Linked DNA regions of Homo sapiens: all the other regions are linked to region 2. The links are contacts of gene promoters, found by promoter capture Hi-C in blood cells and fetal thymus (Javierre and others, 2016). All regions are on one chromosome and are shown on one strand. The core of a region is centred on a gene start or on the middle of the fragment in contact, and the rest is flanking DNA. Distances in the headings are between cores, read along the strand shown.

Region 1 (3,050 bases), core at 514-3,013, 78 kb before region 2:
GGTCCTACTAAAAATACAAAAATTAACCAGGCATGGTGGCACACGACTGTAATCCCAGCTACTCAGGAGGCTGAGGCAGGAGAATGGCTTGAACTCAGGAGGCGGAGGTTGCAGTGAGCTGAGATCGCACCACTGCACTCCAGCCTGGGCAACAGAGTAAGACTCCATCTCAAAAAGCAACAACAACAAAAAGAAGTAAGATCACTGGGTCAAAGGGTAAACTTATATGTAGTTTTCATAGATGTTGCCAAACTATGGGGATTATGTCATTTTGCATTTAGTACCAGCAATCTATGAGAATGCCTGTTTTTCCATAGCCTACCTGACAAAGGTCACAGTGTTGTGTTTTTGGTTTGTTTTTTTGTGGAGGGAGTGGTTCTTTTTCTTTTGAGACAGGTTCTTGCTCTGTTGCCCAGGCTGGAGTGCAGTGGTGCAATTATAGCTCGCTGCAATGTCAACCTCCATGTCTCAAGCGATCCTCCCATCTCAGCCCCCGAAGTAGGTGGGACTACAGGTATAAGCTACCACACACCAGAATGATATAAAAAAAAAAATTGTAGAGACAGTGTCTTACTATGTTGCCCTGGCTGGTATCAAACTCCTGAGCTCAAGCAATCCGTATGCCTCAGCCTCCCAAAATGCTGGTTTATAGACGTGAGACACTGCACCCAGCCCACAGTGGGTTTTTTTGTTTGTTTGTTTGTTTCTTTCTTTCTTTCTTTCTTGAGACAGAGTCTCGCTCTGTCGCCCAGGCTGGAGTGCAGTGGCACGATCTCGGCTCACTGCAACCTCTGCCTGCCAGGTTCAAGCCATTCTCCTGCTTCAGCCTCCTGAGTAGCTGGGGTTACAGGCACCCACCACCACACCCAGCTAATTTTTGTATTTTTAGTAGAGACGGGGTTTCACCATGTTAGCCAGGCTGGTCTCGAACTCCCAACCTCTTGTGATCAGCCCACCTCAGCCTCCCAAATTGCTGGGATTACAGGTGTAAGCCACTGTGCCCGGCCACAGTGTTTTTTAAACTACTGGTAATACTCACTTTTAAAAAAATACAACTGTAATCATCATGTCTATCTATATATCCTAAAATTGATGCATTTTCCAAAAGAATTTTAGGTAAAGGTCTGTGGAATCATGAGCAGCTTGCATCCATGAGTTTATATTATGTGGATTTAGAACCATGTCGATTCTCTATTTGGAATTTTTCCTTCTTTTTTTTTTTTTTCAACTATACTTTGAAACAGTATGGGACCTAGAAGAAGGCAAGCACCCAGCCCCTATCATGTAGTCAGTCTGGCTGCCACCCCAGCAGTAGGATATAGTGAAAATATTATGCCCTGGGGATAACCACTCAAATAGATACCCACATACCCCTTATGCTTGTCAGTGTCTTGAGACTGGTATTGTGTTGTGTTTGTCTTTCTTGCAAAATGTGTCTGTTTTATTCACATATTTTCATCATGTAAGAAAAAATTTTCACTGTTTTGAAACTCTGACACCAAGGAACAGGGAAAAAGCTAAACCTATGGATGTGAAACTAAACATTATCAAGAACTATGTGCCAGGAGAAGACAGCTAACATCAAAGGTTGCTTGGAACTGACTGAATGCACATTGCAAATCTCAAGAAGCTCAAAGCTGTTGACTGACTAGAGTGGGCACACGCCTTTAACCCTCACTTTGTTCTTACCATCCTCAGAATCCCACGCAGGAAAAGGCCCATCTGTCAATGAGCAATATTGTAGAACCAGCCAGGAGCCACAACTCCTCTTTAAGGGACTCAAGCACCTCACTCATGTCTTCTTCCTCAAAGTCCACCTGCCTGGCTAGCCTTCAAGCCATCGACCTGTGGAGGGTGGAGGAAACCACCCCCACTAACTCCAACCCTGCATCCAACAGCTTTCCCTGCTTATGCCACACCTCAACTTCCTTCCCTTGCTCTTTCTTTCTTACCCTGCACTCCTCCTACCCTTGGCCACTTCACCAATTACCCACTGGTACTTCAACAAGCCCATCTGGGTCCTCTCCTTCCCCAGCCTGATGGAGGCTGCATAGTTATCCTGGAAACAGCACAGGCTTTGGATAAAAACAATACGTTTGACTTTTGGCTCTGCTTTGATGATCTTTATGAGCTTGGGCATGTTATATAGCCCCTCTAAGTCTGTGTCTTCATCTGTTAAATAGAGATAATAAGATTTACCTTGCAGGAATGAAATGATGTATTTTGCAGCAACTTGGATGGAGCTGGAGGTCATTATTCTAAGTGAAGTAACTCAGGAATGGAAAACCAAATATCATAGGTTCTCATAAGTGGGAGCTAGGCTGTGAGGACGCAAAGGCATAAGAAAATTCGTGGGAAGACTTTGGGGACTTGTGGGGAGAAGGTTGGGAGGGGTGAGAGATAAAAGACTATACATTGGGTATGGTGTACACTGCTCAAGTGATGGGTACACTAAAATCTCAGATATCACCACTAAAGAACTTACCCATATAACCAAAAGCCATCTGTACCCCAAAAAAAATTGAAATGAAAATAAAAATTTTTTAAAAGATCTACCTTGCAGAGTTGTTGCAGGATTAATAAAGATGGTTTTAGTGTCTGACATATTAGTAGTGAAATAGGAGAGTTCCCTGACCCCCCTTGCAGGACATGTGACAGGGGTGTGGCTCATCTGTTAGGTCGCTGCCACTGATCAAACCCCTTACAGGATGGGGAGCACACAGATGGACATGTGAAGGAGCCAGGGTGCTGGGCTCCGGCCCCATGGCAGCATCCAGGGTTGGGAGCCTGTGACTCTTGGAACCCAACAGGCATGTGTTACAGTGTGCGCTTTTAGCCTTGCTAGTGTTAACCAGCTCAGTGGACCCTCTGCCTTTTTGCAAGGGCAGAGGGCCAGTGTGGCAGCTTTCTGCATCCTGAGCTCTTGTCCAGTGTCCCGGAAGAATCAGGTCACACATGGACTTGAAGGATGAATGCAGGGGTTTTATTGAATGGTGGAGATGGCGCTCAGAGGCATGGATGGGGAACTGAAAGGGGGATGGGGTGGGAAG
Region 2 (3,103 bases), core at 141-2,640:
TCTGTGTGTAGCCCCTCCCACAGGGGCTTGTTATACACCTCCTTAGGGGGAAGGAGGGGTAACTCCAGGTAGGCAAGTGTGGTTTCCAATCCCTCACAATGATACCTTTGCTCTGGCTGGTGCTACATAGGGCAGGGTCTCCTGCTGAGGCAGGGGCAGGATCCAGTCCTTTGAGTTTTCTTGGATGGCATCTCAGGCTTGTCCCTGCTGCCCTGTGGGCTATTAGATCACTTCCTGACATCCCTCAAGAGTCCTCTGGAGTGGGGCTTGCAGGGCTGAGCCTGCAGCTGACTTGTCTATGAGGAAACGCCTCCTCTGTCTCTGGTCCAGGATCTGCTACTTATGGAGGCCCACCCCAACCCAGCACGTTTTTAAAGTACGTTGGAGCTGCCCAGGAGGGTGTTTTGGCAATACCTCCTTTAGAGGCTGATTCTGAAATCAGCGTGCTTTAGAACTGCCAGAAATCCCCTGCTCCCAAAACTGAGTCCTCTTACCTCTCTAGCTGAGGTCAGAGAACAGATTGCTGAAGGGGCAGAGACAAGAAAGTGTGTGACCTGTGACCCTCGCCCCACAGGTGGCATTAAGGACTCAGGTCTGAAAGAAGAGACAGCCATATAGGGAGCTCTCCTGCCCAGGGAAAGGGAACTAATGGAGACACTGGCTTAGGTAGAGCTGCCCCAGTTGCTGGTGCAGAGAGGGCACCAGCATACAACATGCTGGTATGGGCCAAACAGCATGGCTAAAACTGCTTTTTAATTTTTTAAATTTTATTTATTTATTTATTTATTTTGAGACAGAGTTTTGCTCTGTCCCCCAGGCTGGAGTGCAATGGTGTGATCTCGGCTCACTGCAACCTCCACCTCTTGGATTCAAGTGATTCTCGTGCCTCAGCCTCCGGAGTAGCTGGGATTACAGGAGCTCACTACCATACCCTGCTAATTTTTGCATTTTTAGTAAAGATGGGGTTTCACCATATTGGTCATGCTGGTCTCGAACTTCTGACCTTAAGTGATCCCCACTGCCTTTGCCCCCCAAAGTGTTAAAACTGCTTTTTTCAAAAAATGCCCATGCAGTTAGATACACAGCTACTTTTTGGAACTTCGGGAGCCGGTGCTAAGCTGGGTCCGGCCCTGCCTTGCTTGTTAGCTGTAGAGAACAGTGTCAGTGGCCAGGCATGAAAGCAGTACACCCTCCCCATTGTTTGCAGTCTTTTGTGTGTGGGGGCTGTCTAGGCATCTCACCCTCTTTTGTTCCCTGCCGACTCACCTGCTGGTCCCAGGAGCTCTTCCGTCCACCTGGCACTTTAGGGCATGTCCATAGCCAAGGAACAGATGCCCCTTGCAGAGGACCTGGGAGGACTTCTCTCCATGGGGGAGTCCCAGTCAAATGTGTCTTGGCTGCAGGGTTCAGGCAGCCGTCCAAGAAGGGCCGGAAATGCTCCAAATACTCTCCTTCCTCCAATAGCTGAGAGGAAGGAGGCCCCTCAGAGGGGCCATTTTATAGTGATAGCCAGGCTAAGGCTAAGTCCTTTGCTGTGGGGGATGGGAGGTGGTGGGGAAGGAAGTACTTCTGGGGATGAACCAAAAAAGAAAGCAACTTTCTACCTGAATGGGCTTGTTAAAATCTGATTGTCTCAGAGGTTACCTTCTGCTGAATCGCAGGCAGATGTGTGAGGAGTTCCTTTGCTGGGACACAAAGCTGTGTTGTTGACAAAAGTGGTATCTGGACCTGACTTTCAGGAGAAGATTAAAAACAGTGTTGCCCTGGTCACTCTGGTCTTCGTTTGTGTGTATGTGTGCACGTGTTCACGTGTTTGTACATGTACACTTTTTTTTTTTAAAGACAAAATCTCACTCTGTCACCCAGGCTGGAGTGCAGTGGTGCAATCACGGCTTACCGCAGCCTCAAACTCCTGGGCTCCGGTGATTCTCCCACTTCAGCCTGCCAAGCTGGGACTGCAGGTGCACCTGGCTAATTTTTTTTTGGTAGAACAGGATTTTGCCATGTTGCTCAGGCTGGTCTTGAACTCCTGAGCTGCAGTGATCCAACCGGCCCAGCTTCCCAAAGTGCTGGGATTACAGGCTTGAGCCACCTACCCCGGCCCATGCATAGGGGCAAATAGTGTCCTTACCTGGTACTTCTTGAGAGTAGTGGGGATGAATACCAGGGGAGACAGCGATTTTTGTCTCAAGTGAAACAGTCTTACTTGCTTTTGTTTTTCACAGAATACCCAGTCAGGGAGTTTGTGAGCTGGAAAACAAATTTTGTTGTGGACTTGGGAGAAGGTATAGGGGCTATTTTGACTTTCTGAAACCTGCTCATGATCAGAGCTCTCAGGCACCTTTCCCTCATCTTCTTGGGCTTCATCCACGTGATGATGGTGGGAGGGCTCCTGGTCTGTTGCTGGCCTCCTGGAATGAGGCCCATGATGTTGCCATTTAGTGGTCATCTCCCCTTGGATAATTAATTAAAACAAGCGCAGCATTTAGCTTTAGAGTTAGCACAGTGCCTTACTCTCTAACTTCGTTTATCCTTTCAGTCCTGAGTGAGGGCTTGCTGTTATCCCAGTTTATGGATGAGGAAACTAAGGCTCCAAAAGGCTGTGTGGCTGAGTCAGTAACTGGCAGAGCCTGGACCCCAGCCCTGATGATCCTCAGTGGGGGCATACTCCTCACATCCCCTCTTCTCCTCACACCCCGCCTCAGTAGGAAGACTCGCAGCAGTGAGCTGGATGGCTGGCCTGGTTTCCCTGTCTTCAGCCACCAGCTCACTTTCTTCTTAAGCCAGAGCTGCTTCCCTCATTGGGTCTGTGCTAGTCCTCTCAGACATCTAGCCCCAAACCAAATGTTTGGGGCAGAGAAAGCAGAAGCACATCTGCATCTGGGCAGAAGAGGAGGGCTGGGTGTCCGCAGAGGGTAGCAGGGAATGAAGGAGGGAGAGCAGCTCGTAGTTGGGCTACATGGCATCCGCTGGAGTCCTGCCCTCCCTGGTTGGGGAAACCATGTGCAATGAATTTCCTACGGGGGCCAGGCATGGTGGCTCATGCCTGTAATCCTAGCACTTTGAGAGGATGAGGCAGGAGGATTGCTTGAGCCCAGGAGTT
Region 3 (3,209 bases), core at 559-3,058, 100 kb after region 2:
ACCTGGCTGGCGGAAGGAGCATCCTTTCCCCCGGGCCTGTGGCTTCTCTCGGCCAGGCGATGGAGCCCTTCCCCACAGTTCTTTTGGAGGGCGTTTGTGGGGAGGGTGTGGGAGATGGAGGCATAGGAAAATCCTAGCTCTTTCCCTTGGGCTGTGGGGAGGGGTCCAGGGCTACAGTGCCGTTGACCTTGAAGAAGGGGAGGGAAACCCCTCACCTCAGTTTCTCTCCTGTGGAATGGAGGTTGGGGAAGACACACTCTCTTCTGTGTTTCAGCACCTCCTCCCAGGGTCTGCCCTGGGAACCAGTGGGTTAGGGAGGAGCTCCTCTTCTATTCTTTTTCCAGAGGGAAGAACCTGCCACTGTCAGAGCCCTGGTCTCCCTGTCTGGGGCCAGGACCCGCGTTTGGGGATGTGCTTTAAGGGAGATGCCAACTGAAGTATTTTTGTCTTGCTAGCTCCGTTGCTAAGCAACCACTGAGCGGCAGCAACAGCTGGGGGAGAGTGGCTGGGATGGGAGGCCTGGGGACCACCCTCAAACCTGTCTGTTGCACACACCTCTCCAGTGCAGGCAGGGTTGGGGGGGGGTTGGAAAGCTGCAGAGGGAGGAGGGGTGGCTCAGTGTTGGGGGTCCTTCTGAGCCAGGAGCCTCCCCTCTTACTGCCCTTCTCCCGTTACAGAGGCTGTGATCAATAGCCAGGAATGGACTTTGAGCCGCTCCATTCCTGAACTGCGCCTGGTAGGTAACCCAGTCCCCTTGCCTATAGGGAAGGCTGACCTCCCACCCACTGCACTCTCAGCTCTCTCCCTTCACCTCTCCTTCTCTCTCTCTCTCTCTTTGGGAATAGGGAATCGTTTTCCAGTTCTCCTGAGAGTCTGCCTTCATAGCACCAACATGGGGTTTGCTACAGCCTCCTCACAAGTTTTTCCTATCTAGTCTTTATGCAGCCATCCCCTTTTTCCTGTTTGTTCATGGTCCTCCTCCAGGCTTCTCATTTCTGGTATCTGCCCTTTGGCCTTCATGTTGTACTGCCTAGAATTGGGTAAAGTTTTCCAACTAGTGCCTAGAGCTGTGACATGCTACAAACACACACACACAGAGACACACACACACAACATATCTAGTATGTTTTCTAAACAACCCAACACACAAAAAAGCTGGTACTGAATTGCTGACATTCTTCAGCTCGTGCTCCACTTTGAGCTTGGGATCATTTCTTACCACACTCATGCCCTGATCCTCCCAACTGCTCTGATCCCCCCAGCTGCTCTGATCCTCCCAACTGCTCTCTCTGGAATGACTGTCATCCAGGCCCTGTAGGGTCCTGCTTGGATGACTTATCTCTCTGGGTTTTCTGGAGTGTCCAGACCCATGCATCCTGCCTTCTCTTATATCCCACAATTTCTGCTCCACAACCTTGCCCTCAGGGTGTGCTGGGCGATGCCAGGAGTGGGAAGTCATCGCTCATCCACCGATTCCTGACTGGCTCATACCAGGTGCTGGAGAAGACAGAGAGTGAGTTCTGAAGAGCCATAGTAAGCTAACCATTGGGGTCAGGGATCCAGGAGTGAGATCAATGATTAGGCAGGTGTGGAGACCAGGGGGGAAGGATGAGGCCATAATAGCAAAAGCACTGGGAGCATGGGGAGGTTTGGTGACCTGTCACCTCTGACCTGTTACCCCTTCCAACTCTTCTGGACAGGTGAGCAGTACAAGAAAGAAATGTTGGTGGATGGACAGACACATCTGGTGCTAATCCGAGAGGAAGCTGGGGCACCTGATGCCAAGGTGAGGGTGGAGGTGGTGGGGGACAGGCTGGCTGGGGTCAGCACTGGCCAAAGGAGAGGGCTCTGGTTTCCCAGGTCTTCATCTGGATTGGGTCCAGAGGAGTAGACCTGTCTGACTTTCCATTTGCTCCCTCACTCCCCGCAAGTTCTCAGGCTGGGCAGATGCTGTGATCTTCGTCTTCAGCCTGGAGGATGAGAACAGTTTCCAGGCTGTGAGCCGTCTCCATGGGCAGCTGAGTTCCCTTCGCGGGGAGGGACGAGGAGGCCTGGCCTTGGCACTGGTGGGGACACAAGGTAAGGAGGGGTTAGGAAAGCACTGCTTTCAAGGGAGGCCCTAAGGAGGCTACTGGGATATTGCCCAACATGGGTGAGAACTTGGTAAGGTGTGGAAATGGCCACTTGGATTATAGTACCCTTCTGGAGGGAGCCTGGTCTCCAAATAAGGGAGTCATGAAACCAAACAATAACTTCCCAAGGTCTGAGCAGAGAAAAGGGGATCTCCAGGGAGGAAAGGACAGCTATAGTAGCCATCTCCTTGCCTCTCCTGAAATGTCACCTACCTTGTGTTCTGACACTGCCATTTCCTAGTGCCACCATCCTAGGACACAGAAAATCTCAAGTCCTAGGGTGGATAGGAAACCTTTTCCATCTTCCTTTTTGCGACAGCTGGGTAAGGCTGACACCTTTTAAAGGAACTTATCCAAAAACAAAGTGAAAACACAAAGGAAATGATGATGAAAAGAAGAGAGCAGAAAACCTTTTAGTTCTCAGAGAAGTGACTCAGAGGCTCCCAGACTCTGCCAGGGCCAGGAAATGCTTTTCCAGCACTCCCCTGTGTCGAGCTGGTGGGACTTGGTCTGGATGCCTGTTCTGCTGGTGCCTATCTCCACCTGTTGCTTGCATCCTGGTTTCTTGCTGCAGAGTGGGCAGTCCAGCCATGACCCATGGGCACCCAACCTTTTCCTAGTTCACAAGCTGGTGTCCTCCCACCAGTTCAGGGTTCTATGGATTTGCAGGGCAGGGTGATTGTCGCTCGCGCCTGGGTCTCAGCTATGTAGACCTTGTCAGGAAGCACCACTCAGCAGCTCTGGAGTATTCCTTGAGGACACACACACACACACACACACACACACAGCTCACCCAGCTAGGTGTGTGAACTGGGCCCAGTACTCAGAAAGGGCTTATGTACTCCCATTCCACCTGGTCACAGAAAAGATGATCTCTCACACCCCATCCCCAGTGGACCCAGCCTGAGGGCCCAGTGCAAGGATAAGGGAATTGTGAAAAATCGAACAAGGTGGGGCTCCTTGTTCAATCCTGCCCCTTTCCTGTCCCCTCAGACAGGATCAGTGCTTCCTCCCCTCGGGTGGTGGGAGATGCTCGTGCCAGAGCTCTGTGCGCGGACATGAAACGCTGCAGCTACT

Evidence for each region. Contacts are between HindIII fragments. The CHiCAGO score rates a contact against its expected background, and 5 or more counts as called.
Region 1: a fragment that was not itself captured here is called in contact with the fragment with the promoter of CTDSP2-AS1 in region 2 in 16 of 17 cell types (activated CD4 T cells, M2 macrophages, M0 macrophages and 13 more); the score reaches 24.3 in activated CD4 T cells.
Region 3: a fragment that was not itself captured here is called in contact with the fragment with the promoter of CTDSP2-AS1 in region 2 in 3 of 17 cell types (total CD8 T cells, non-activated CD4 T cells and naive CD4 T cells); the score reaches 7.2 in total CD8 T cells.

The regions. Positions count from the first base shown.
Region 1 is chr12:57,913,644-57,916,693 of GRCh38, reverse strand. No RefSeq gene overlaps it. Among named protein-coding and RNA genes, the nearest start is that of GIHCG, 21 kb to the left of the region's middle. The HindIII fragment of the contact is 9,190 bases long and covers 1-3,050 here.
Region 2 is chr12:57,835,378-57,838,480 of GRCh38, reverse strand. CTDSP2-AS1 (CTDSP2 antisense RNA 1) reads right to left here and starts at 1,390. Exons shown (of 2, transcript NR_188077.1): 1 at 1,267-1,390. All of the region lies in intron 1 of CTDSP2 (CTD small phosphatase 2), which reads left to right. RefSeq lists enhancers at 51-130, 191-300, 1-501, 1,091-1,160. The HindIII fragment of the contact is 9,495 bases long and covers 1-3,103 here.
Region 3 is chr12:57,732,896-57,736,104 of GRCh38, reverse strand. AGAP2 (ArfGAP with GTPase domain, ankyrin repeat and PH domain 2) reads left to right here. Exons shown (of 19, transcript NM_001122772.3): 2 at 678-736; 3 at 1,426-1,513; 4 at 1,701-1,786; 5 at 1,932-2,079; 6 at 3,126-3,209. Among named protein-coding and RNA genes, the nearest start is that of AGAP2, 4.2 kb to the left of the region's middle. RefSeq lists an enhancer at 1,276-2,475. The HindIII fragment of the contact is 5,376 bases long and covers 1-3,209 here.